Linked DNA regions of Homo sapiens: region 1 is linked to region 2. The links are contacts of gene promoters, found by promoter capture Hi-C in human tissues and cell types (Jung and others, 2019). All regions are on one chromosome and are shown on one strand. Each heading gives the region's core, a stretch centred on a gene start or on the middle of the fragment in contact. The rest is flanking DNA. Distances are from core to core; before and after follow the strand shown. Region 1 overlaps WDR45B (WD repeat domain 45B). Region 2 holds the start of FOXK2 (forkhead box K2).

Region 1 (5,477 bases), core at 2,841-5,340, 110 kb before region 2:
CCATGTTGGTCGCGCTGGTCTTGAACTCCCGACCTGAGGGATCCACCTGCCTCGGCCTGGCCTCCCAGAGTGCTGAGATTATAGGTGTCAGCCCCTGCACCCAGCCAACATTTCTTTACTTAACCATTAGCTAGAATCACATCTTGCTAAGGGAATGACTTGTTGCTTTTAGAACTTGAAAAGACGGCTGCGCACAGTGGCTAATGCCTGTAATCCCAGCACTTTGGGAGGCCGAGGTGGGTGGATCTCCTGAGGTCAGGAGTTCGAGACCAGCCTGGCCAACATGGTGAAACGCCGTCTCTACTAAAAATACAAAAATTAGCTGGGTGTGATGGGCGCCTGTAATCCCAGCTACTTGGGAGGCTGAGGCAGGAGAATCACTTGAACCCAGGAGGTGGAGGTTGCAGTGAGCCAAGATCGCACCACTGCACTCCATCCTGGGCGACAAGAGCAAAACTCCATCTCAAAAAAAAAAAAAAAACCTGAAAAGACTTATGATATAATCAAGCATTAATAACTTTATTAATAAGCCTAAGATCATGTAGTTTATAAAAGGGCTAAACATTGTCTCTCGGTTAAATAGTGTTTGAAGAGTACATTAGTGACCTTGACATAATTCTCAGGTCACTCAGATGTGTTTCTAAAACTTACTGAACCTACATTGAGGAAATAGTTACACTTCTGACACCTGGGGCAAAGAAGGTCTTCAGTGGCAGCATTTTTTAAAAAAAAAATTATGGTAAAAAATTATGTAAAATAAAATTTACCATCTTAACCATTTTTAAGCGCATAGATCAGTAATGTTGAATATATTCACATTGTTGTTAAACGGACCTCTAGAATTTCATCTTGGGAAGCCAAAGTCTACATCCATCAATTCTGCCTCCCCTGTCTCCTAGTAACCACCGTGCTACTTTTCTGTCTCCATGAACTTGACTGCTGTAGGGACTTCCCGTGAATGCCATCATATATGCCTGGCTTATTTCACTTAGTGTAGTGTTCTCTAGGTTGATCTCTGTTGCAGCCTGGGTCAGAACTTCAGGCCGGGTACCGCAGCTCACCCCTGTAATCCCAGTGTTTTCAGAGTCTGAGGCAGGAGGATTGCTTGAGGCCAGGAGTTTGAGACCAGTCTGGGCAACATAGTGAGACCTTATCTTGACAAAATCATAAATGAGAAATATTGTTTCTGTTTAAGGCTGAATAATAAATCACTGCACGTATGGAGCACGTGCTGTTTGTTCATTTCTCCATCTGTGGACACTCGGGTCCTTCTGCATCTTTGCTATTGTGAATGATGCTGCTACAAGCGTGGGTGTGCGGGTATCTCTTCCAGACCCTGCCTTGAGTTCTTTTGCTTGTATGACTAGAAGTGGGATTGCTGGATCATATGGTAACTTTGTTTTTTTCTTTTTTTTTGAGACAGAGTCTCGCCCTGTCGCCCAGGCTGGATGGAGTGCACTGGCGAGATCTCGGCTCACTGCAGCCTCCGCCTCCCGGGTTCAAGCAGTTCTCCTGCCTCAGCCTCCCGAGTAGCTGGGATTACAGATGTGCACTGCCGCTCCTGGCTAATTTTTGTATTTTTAGTAGAGACAGGGTTTCACCATGTTGGCCAGGATGGTCTTGATCGCCCGACCTCATGATTCGCCTGCCTCGGCCTCCCAAGGTGTTGGGTTTATGGGTATGAGCCACTGCATCTGGTCATTTGGTAACTTTTTGATTTATAAAAATCAGCCTTTTTTTTTTTTTTTTTTTTTTTTGAGATGGAGTCTCACTGTGTCACCCAGGCTGGCGTGCAGTGTCACAATCTCGGCTCACTGCAACGTCCGCTTCCCGGGTTCAAGCGATTCTCCTGCCTCAGCCTCCCAAGTAGCTGGGATTACAGGCACCTGCCACCACGCCTGGCTAATTTTTTTGAATTTTTAGTAGAGACGAGGTTTCACCATGTTGGCCAAGCTGGTTTCAAACTCCTGACCTCAAGTGATCCACCTGCCTTGCCTCCCGAAGTGCTGAGATAACAGGCATGAGCCACCACGCCTGGCCTTTTTATTATTTTTTAATTGAGGGAGCGTCTCACTGTGTTGCCCAGGCTGATCTTAAACTCCTGGCCTCAAGTCATCATCCTGCCTTGGCCTCCCAGGGTGCTGGGATTATAGGTGTGAGTGAGCTGCTGTGCCCAGCCTCTTTTTAATTTTTTGAGGACCTGTCCTACTTTTTTCCAGAGCAGCTGCATCAGACAGTGCATGAGAGTTCCCATAGCTTCATATCTTGGCCAGTACTTGTTATTTCCTGGGTTAAAAAACAATATTAGCCATCCTCTGCAGTGAGCCCTGTTCTCATCACTGCACTTGCCTGAGCAACACTGTCTCAAAAAAAGAAAAAAAATTAGTCATCTTCATGGGTATGAGGTGGTGGGATCTCATTGTGGTTTGGTTTTGATGTCTCTGATGCCTAATGAAGTTGAGCATCTTTCTTTGTACTTGTTGGCCATTTGTAAATTATCTTTGAAGAAACACTACTCAAATCCTTTGCCAATTTTAAAATCAGATTATTAATTTTTTTATTGTTGAGTTGTAAAAGTCCTTCATATATTCTGGATATTACGCACTGTATCAGATGTGTGGTTTGTAAATATGCTCTGCCGTTCCATAGGTTGTGTTTTCATTCTGTTGATTGTGTCCTTTGGTGCACAAAAGTTTGATGTCCCAAAAGCACATTGCCCGTGCTGGTTTTTTTTTTTTTTTTTTTGAGATGGAGTCTCCCTCCTTCGCCCAGGCTGGAGTGCAGTGGTGCAATCCTTGCTCACTGCAACCTCTGCCTCCCGGGCTCAAGCGATTCTCCTGCCACAGACTCCTATATAGCTGGGATTACAGGCGCCTGCCACCACAGCCAGCTAATTTTTGTATTTTTAGTAGAGACGGAGTTTCACTATGTTGGCCAGGTCGAACTCCTGACCTCAAGTAATCCACCTGCCTCAGCCTCCCAAAGTGCTGAGATTACAGGCGTGAGCCACTGCGGCCGGCGAATTTTTTAATTTTTATTTTTGGTAGAGAAGGGATTTCCTTATGTTGCCCAGGATGGCCTTGAACTCTTGGGCTCAAGCAGTCCTCCCACCTCTGCCTGCCAAAGTGCTGGGATTACAGATGTGAGCCACTGTGCCCGGCTGCCTTGAATTTTAAATATCTCGAAGATCGAGCTGAGGAACTTTTGAGTCATTTCGTGCAGCTGTGACTGGAGAGATAGAGCTCATGGTCATTGCAGACACAGAAGTGGGTGGGTGGATGGTCCTCCTGAGTTACGTGAACCATGCAGAACGTGGGAGTTTCTCATCAGTGTGCCCCTGTTGCTCCCCTCAGAGAGCATTGGTCATCCTTTTGTCATGGAAGACCTCTGAAAATTTGTGGACATTTTCCTCTTACGTAATTCATGAACAGTTGGGAGCATTTCAGACTTCGGTGGCTCACACTTACAATCCCAGCATTTTGGGAGGCTGAGATGGCAGGATTGTTTGAGACCAGGAGTTCACGACCAGCCTGGGCAATACAGTATGACCTCGCCTCTACAAAAACTTTTCTGAAAAAATTAACCAGGCGCGGTGATGTGTGCCTGTAGTCCCAGCTACTCGGGAGGCTGAAGCAGGAGGAGTCCTTGAGCCCGGGAGTTTGAGGCTGTAGTGAGCTGTGATCACTTCACTGCACTCAAGCCTGAGCAACACAGCAAGACCCTGTTTCTTAAAAAAAAAGGAAATGATAAAAGTCACTCAGCTTTTGCATTAAAGTTTTGTGGGGTTTTTTTGGTTTGTTTTTATTTTTGTTTTTATTTATTTATCTTGAGATAGAGTCTCGCTCTGTCACCAGGCTGGAGTGCAGTGGTGTGATCTCGGCTCACTGCAGCCTCAGCCTCCGGGGTTCAAGTGATTCTCCTGCCTCAGCTCCTGAGTGGCTGGGACTACAGGTGCCTGCCACCACGCCGGCTAATTTTTGTATTTGTAGTAAAGACAGCGTTTCACCATGTTGGCCCAGATGGTCTCAGTCTCTTGACCTCATCATCTGCCCGCCTCAGCCTCCCAAGCATTAAAGCTTTTAGTATGCTGTCTTGGAGTTGACAGGTTTTGCCACCTCTTGAAATGTGAATTCAAGTATTTCATACATTTTGCTGAGTTAGCTTCCTAGGGTGTTGTGTGCTCAGCCTTTATGAAACAGTGAACATGATGACAGTAAACTGAGAGAATTTGGAAACCTAGCACTCACTATTTTTTTAGCCAGTCACCTTTCTCATTTCTGACGATAGTTAGATATAAATTGCTGATTAAAAATGAGTCCTGTAGGCCGGGCACAGTGGCTCATGTCTGTAGTCCCAGCATTTTGGGAGGCCGAGGCAGACTGATCGCCTGAGTTCAGGAGTTTGAGATCAGCCTGGCCAGCATAGTGAAACCCCATCTCTACTAAAAATACAAAAATTAGCTGGGCATGGTGGCACATGCTTGTAATCCCAACTACCTGGGGAGGCTGAGGCAGGAGAGTGGCTTGAACCCAGGAGGTGGAGGTTGCAGTAAGCCGAGATCGCGCGACTGCACTCTAGCCTGGGTGACAGAGCAAGACTCCTTCTCAAAAAAAAAAAAAAAAAAAAAAAATGAGTCCTGTATTCCCAGCTACTTGGGAAGCTGAGGCAGGAGGATCATGTGAGCCCAGGAGTTCAAGGCTGCAGTGAGCTGTGATTGTACCTGTGAATAGCTACTGCATTCCAGCCTGGGCAACACAGTGAGATCTTGTCTCTTACAAAAAATAGAAAATTGCTGCGTTACCTGTCTTGACTTTCTCTTTTCTTTTTTATTGTAAAATATACATATTAACTTGTAACATTGGTCTTTTTAAAACTATCATTTCAGAATTTCTAGAAGGAGGAGTTGGCCATGTTGAAATGTTATTTCGCTGCAACTATTTAGCTTTAGTTGGTGGTGGAAAAAAGCCGAAATACCCTCCCAACAAAGGTACTGTAATTGTGTATTGAAGAATCATGCCTCACGTGTCCCACCCAGTCTTTTTTTGAATGCGTTTATGTTTGTGGCCATGTGTGATTTTCCCTAGTAGTTCTGTGAAATATCCAGGACTGGTCACTGGGGAGGAAGCAGGCGAAGAGGGCACCAGGTCTCTATTCCCAGATGGAGCACCTAAAGAGCATCACTCGCTTGCATTGTCATAGAACACGTGCGTTTCAGTCAGTAAACGGAAAACGGGCCTGCTGCACCTTAGGTTGACGTCGTAAATGTCATGAATTCATTTTAAAGCAAGGTAGAAGGATTTTTTTTCTTACAGAGAGCCATTGACTTAAAGGAACATTAGTTTCATAGCCACGTGGAACAAAACACCACTTGGGCTCTGGGTTTCGGGATATGTTTGTCGGAGTGGGAGTACGTGTGTGTATGCAGATGATGTGGCGTAAGAGCTCTGGCCCTTTTAAGTAGAGGGAGGAGTAGATAG
Region 2 (5,708 bases), core at 2,646-5,145:
GTAGTGCACACCTGTAATCCCAGGTACTCGGGAGGCTGAAGCAGGAGAATCGCTTGAGCCCAGGAAGCGGAGGTTGCAATGAGCCGAGATCATACCATTGCACTCCAGCCTAGGCAACAAGAGCGAAAAACTCTGTCTTAAAAAAAAAAAAAAAAGATTTTAAACAATTTATCTGCATTTCACTGGTACCAATTCTTTATGATTTATTCCATTAACCTGTGTTACTGCCCTACACCACAAATTTGGAAATGATACCTTACAAAAAAGGAAGTGCTGAAATATCCTCTAGGTTAATAATTTAATTCACACCGCACAAATGCTAAACTCCCCTCTGTGAAAAAAGCCACTCATCCCCTTGTGTACTCAGTACGGGTAGAGAGTCCCAGGCCCATGAGAAGTCCAGGATACATGTTCACCTCGGTGGCCACAAGACTCTTCCCTGAGCACAAGTGGGAGGCCCAGCCTCCATCTCACTGCCCTTCTTACTCATCTCTACTGCAAGACTCATTCCTACTGTTCAAAAGGTCTGAATTCGGCCAGGCGTGGTGGCTCACAGCTGTAATCCCAGCACTTTGGGAGGCCAAGGCGGGTGGATCACGAGGTCAGGAGATCAAGACCATCCTGGCCAACATGGTAAAACCCCATCTCTACTAAAAATACAAAAATTAGCTGGGTGTGGTGGCGTGTGCCTGTAATCCCAGCTACTCAGGAGGCTGAGGCACAAGAATTGCTTGAACCAGGGAGGCGGAGGTTGCAGCAAGCCAAGATCACGCCATTGTACTCCAGCCTGGCAACAGAGCGAGACTCCGTCTCAAAAAAATAAGGTCTGAATTCTGGCCCTCACTGAAAGGTCAACTTATCTCCATGTTTATCATGTTAGCATGTGCAGAATTCAATTCAATACAAATCGTTCTGGCTGAATGGTGAGGAGAATTTTCTTTAAAAACTCAAAATCGGGCCAGGCACAGTGGCTCATGCCTGTAATCGCAGCACTTTGGGAGGCCGAGGCGGGCAGATCATGAGGTCAGGAGATCGAGACCATCCTGGCTAGCATGGTGAAACCCCGTCTCTACTAAAAATACAAAAAAAAATTAGCTGGGCGTAGTGGCGGGTGCCTGTAGTCTCAGCTACTCGGGAGGCTGAGGCAGGAGAATGATGTGAACCCGGGAGGCATAGCTTGCAGTGAGCCGAGATTGCGCCACTGCACTCCAGCCTGGGGGACAGAGCAAGGCTCCGTCTCAGGAAAAAAAAAAAAAAATTCCAAAAAACTCAAAATCTTGGCCAGGTATGTGGGAGGAGTGGTGAGATCATAGCTCACACCTGTAATCCCAGCCTGGAATGCAGTGGTGCAATCATAGCTCACAGCAACTTCAAACTCCTGAGCACTGGGGCAGGAGGATCGCTTGTGCCCAGAAGTTTGAGGCTGCAGTGAGCTGTCATCATACCAGTACACTCCAGGCTAGGTCACAGAGACCGTGTCTCAAAATCAAAAACAAACAAACAAAAACTCAAGATCCTCACAGTAGACGCAAACTTCCTTTGTTGTGACACAGTATTTTGTAAAAAAAAAAAAAAAAAAAAAAAAGTCAGATTAAAGGGTAGCCATTAGGACCCTACCATTGATTTCATACCGTCTACAGTATAAACACACATAAATAGCATTTTCATTTGAAAATTTCTTTTTTTTTTTTGAGGCGGAGTCTTCCTCTGTCCCCCAGGCTGGAGTGCAGTGGTGCGATCTCGCTGGCTGCAAGCTCCACCTCCAGGGTTCACATTCTCCTGCCTCAGCCTCCTGAGTAGCTGGGACTACAGGCGCCCGCCACCGCGCCCGGCTAATTTTTTTTTTTTTTTTGTATTTTTAGTAGAGACGGGTTTCACCGTGTTAGCCAGAATGGTCTCGACCTCCTGACCTCGTGATCCACCCGCCTCGGCCTCCCAAAGTGCTGGGATTACAGGCGTGAGCCACCGCGCCCGGCCTGAAAATAACATTCTTTAAAATGCTACTACCAAAGTTTAAGGAATATGCTGGTGCACCTTTCCATGCTAAGAAACAGAACAGCGCATGCACACACACACAACACGCAAGTCAAGAAGAAAAGCAACAGCTCTTACCAGCATCTCCAACAACCGAAAGCGTTAAAAATTCCAATTTGTAGGCCGGGCGCGGTGGCTCACGCCTGTAATCCCAGCACTTTGGGAGGCCGAGGCGGGTGGATCACGAGGTCAGGAGTTCAATACCAGCCTGGCCAAGATGGTGAAACCCCGTCTCTACTAAAAATACAAAAAATTAGCCGGGCGCGGTGGCAGGCGCCTGTAATCCCAGCTACTCGGGAGGCTGGGGCAGGAGAACCACTTGAACTCAAAGGGCGGAGATTGCAGTGAGCCAAGATCGCGCCACTACACTCCAGCCTGAGCGACAAAGTGAGCCTCCGTCTCAAAAAACAAAAAACAAAAAAATTCCAGTTTGTGTGGACAAAGGCTGTACTTGCAATGATCTAGAAGTGAGCCCCTGAGGAATAATTAGCATTTCCTAGACAGCAAGTTTGTGTTTCAAGCAGAGTAAACGATAACTTCATAAAACCACAGGACCAAGCTAAATTGTTTTGTAGCAGGATAGGCAGTTCCCTATCAGGCTGACTTAACACTCTACATGACCTTGTAATAATTCCTAATCAACTGTCTTTTTGTAGAAGTTATGCGAAAAGCATCTAGTTTTCCCTAAATTTTAAGGTTCAGAGCACAGATTGAAAATCCATCATGCTTGAAGCGTCTTCCAATTTGGCCTACTGAAAACACGGCAGGGAAAAAGGAGTCCTTCCTGCTTAAAACACCGCACTCTTGAAACAGCTCACTACTGAAAACGACTGAACAACAACAACAACAAAAGACAACAGACAACCCTTCATCGGTTAAGAGACATAGATTTTAGTTCGGGGCAGTTCCTCCCACCGCACACCGTTTTCACATTTCTGTTCAGCGCGACCTCGCTGCAGAATAGAAACAGCACACGTGAACTCCCCGCACGCACAGAACCCAGAAACCTTGACCCGCGCGCGCAGCCGCCCGCAGCCCCGGCTCCAGGAAGGGGGAAAGACGGGGGGCTGCACCTGCCAGGAAGGGGACCGGGAGGACGGGGGTCGGGGCCAGGGGCTGTCGAGGGTTGGGATCCAGCCGGGGCCTGGGTCCCGCTGGTGGTCCCGGCTGTGGGAGAGTCGGGCCCCCGCTCGTGGGTGGTCCCGGGCCTGGGCGCGTGTCCCGTCCCGTCCTGCCAGGCGCTGCAGGCCGCAGACCCCGCCCGCCCCGCCCCGAGGCCACTCACACGCGCGGCAGCTGCAGCGGCGGCGCCCCGCGCCTCTGGAACACGCCGTCCACGAATACCCCGTTCTTGCCCAAGCAGCGCAGGTAGAAGTCGCCGCCGGCGTCGGGCCTGGGCTGCGCGGGCGGCAGCTCCGGAGCGGCCCCGCCATGGCCGCCGCCGCCCGGGGGCGTGAAGATCTCGAGGTGGCGCCGGGAGATGAAGCTCGAGTGGCCCATGCTCACGTCCACCGAGCCCTGCGACGAGTTGCGGCCGATGGTCACCGAGCGCTTCTTCATCAGATACTCGAACTCGCGGCCCTCCAGGCGCGCCACGGCCCAGCCGCCCGGCGGGGACCCGCCGCCCCCGGCCCCGCCGCCCCCGGCCCCGCCGCCCGCGGGTGGCGTGCCCGCGCCCGAGAGCGCCGCCGCGGCCGCCGCCATGGGCCTGCGTGAGGGCCCCCGGGCCGCTCCGCGCGGGCGCCGGTGGCGCGGGCCGAGGCCCAGGCCGCGCGGGTCGTCGGCCGCCGCGCACCGGAGCTGAGGGAGGGGGCCGAGCGGAGGCCGCCGGCCGGCGAGCGAGCGAGCGGCGGCGAGGGGCGGGAGCACGCGCGGCCGCGCCACCGAGCCGGCACGCCGGGCCCGCCCCTCGCTGACGGACGGTTACGCCGGCCAATGGGGGCGGCGTACGGCAGTGGGGCTACCGAAGCAGGCCAATGGCAAGACACGTCGCACCAAGCTGCCGGCACGTCCGGCGGCGACGCCCGACGCAGTCCCGACTCCGGGCGCCGCGGAAAACCCGGGGCGGACAGTCGGCAGCCCGCGCGGGATCGGGGCTGGCGCGGGGTTGGCGCGGGCGCGGGAGCTCGGGGGTCTGAGCCCGGCCTGGCAGCGCCTTAGGCGCGGCGGGCGGGACCAGGCCCAAGGTCACAGCGGGCGCCAGGCACGCAGCGGCCCCCAACCCGGCGTGGACGCCGGGGTGCGGATAGGCGGCGGCCCGCGAGCCCAGGCCCGGCCGCCGAGCGGCCTTTTCCCCGCGAGGTGCGGGAATATCGCGGAGGGGCCGCGTGCCGCGTGGCCTCAGACCCAGGGGACCCGGTGACACGTTCGTTTTTAACCAGCAGCTCCAGGACTGGATGTCGTTATCTTTCCTGGCTAGCGAGTCATGTCATTGTGTCAAAACTGTCCTGCAAAATACGCAGAAGTTCTGAATCACATTTACTTAACTGTCGTCAGCACACAGTTTAAAAATATACACGAGGCCGGGCGCGGTGGCTCACGCCTGTAAGCCCAGCACTTTGGGAGGCCGAGGCGAGCGGATCACCTGAGGTCAGGAGTTCGAGACCAGCCTAGCCAACATGGTGAAATCCCAGCTCTACTAAAAATACAAAAAAAAAAAAAAAAATAGCCGGGTGTGGTGGTGCACACCTGTAGTCCTAGCTACTCAGGAGGCTGAGGCAGGAGAATTGCTTAAACCTGGGAGGCGGAGGCAGGAGAATTGCTTCAACCTGGGAGGTGGAGGTTGCAGTAAGCCGAGATCGCGTCACTGCACTTCAGTCTGGGCAACAAGAGTGAAACTACGTCTCATATGTATATATATGAACTATATATATGTGAACTATATATATATATATGAACTATATATATATGAACTATATATATATGAACTATATATATGAACTATATACATATATGAACTATATATATATGAACTATATATATATGAACTCTCATGAACGAATAGTTAATATCTTAACCAATCTGATACTAAGTTTTTAAAAAAAGAATTTCGCCACCGTTTAAAAAATTACAAGATCCCATCTAAATCAAGATGATCAATAGTCCAGATGTTCACTAATCAATGAAACTCCTAACATTAAAAAGAAAAAATCCTGTGGCCGGGCGCGGTGGCTCACACCTGTAATCCCAGTGCTTTGGGAAGCCGAGGCGGGTGGATCACAAGGTCAGGAGTTCAAGACCAGCCTGCCCAACATAGTAAAAGCCCGTCTCTACTAAAAATACAAAAATTAGCCAGGCATGGTGGGGCGTGCCTGCAGTCCCAGCTACTTGGGAGGCTGAGGCAGTAGAATCGCTCGAACCTGGGAGGCGGAGGTTGTGGTGAGCAGACATCACGCCACTGCCCTCCAGCCTGGGTGACAGAGGAGACTCCGTCTCAAAAAAAAAAAAAAAAAAAAAAATTGGGAAAAGAAAGAAAAAATCCTGTAAATGTATCTCACGGGTACTTAACCAGTTGTGGAGACGTTCAAGGTTCAGGATCATGAAAAGTCTACAACCTCTTAAACAGGAAGAATTCCGTGGGAAGTCAGTGTCAGCCCTAGAAACCATGGCTTGGGCTCCAAGCGCGCATCTTCGCAAAACTGAAATAGCAACAAATGGTACCAATTTAGTCTCTG

The links. Contacts are between HindIII fragments. The study calls those that stand out against the background at their distance.
Region 1: a contact is called between a fragment that was not itself captured here and the fragment with the promoter of FOXK2 in region 2, in 3 of the 25 tissues and cell types used here (H1 embryonic stem cells, dorsolateral prefrontal cortex and pancreas).

Annotation. Positions count from the first base shown.
Region 1 is chr17:82,630,431-82,635,907 of GRCh38, reverse strand. WDR45B (WD repeat domain 45B) reads left to right here. Exons shown (of 10, transcript NM_019613.4): 3 at 4,886-4,987. Among named protein-coding and RNA genes, the nearest start is that of WDR45B, 15 kb to the left of the region's middle. The HindIII fragment of the contact is 5,957 bases long and covers 1,112-5,477 here.
Region 2 is chr17:82,517,919-82,523,626 of GRCh38, reverse strand. FOXK2 (forkhead box K2) reads right to left here and starts at 3,895. Exons shown (of 9, transcript NM_004514.4): 1 at 3,320-3,895. The coding sequence starts at 3,738. RefSeq lists silencers at 3,056-3,105, 3,186-3,365, 3,816-4,475. The HindIII fragment of the contact is 19,651 bases long and covers 1-5,708 here.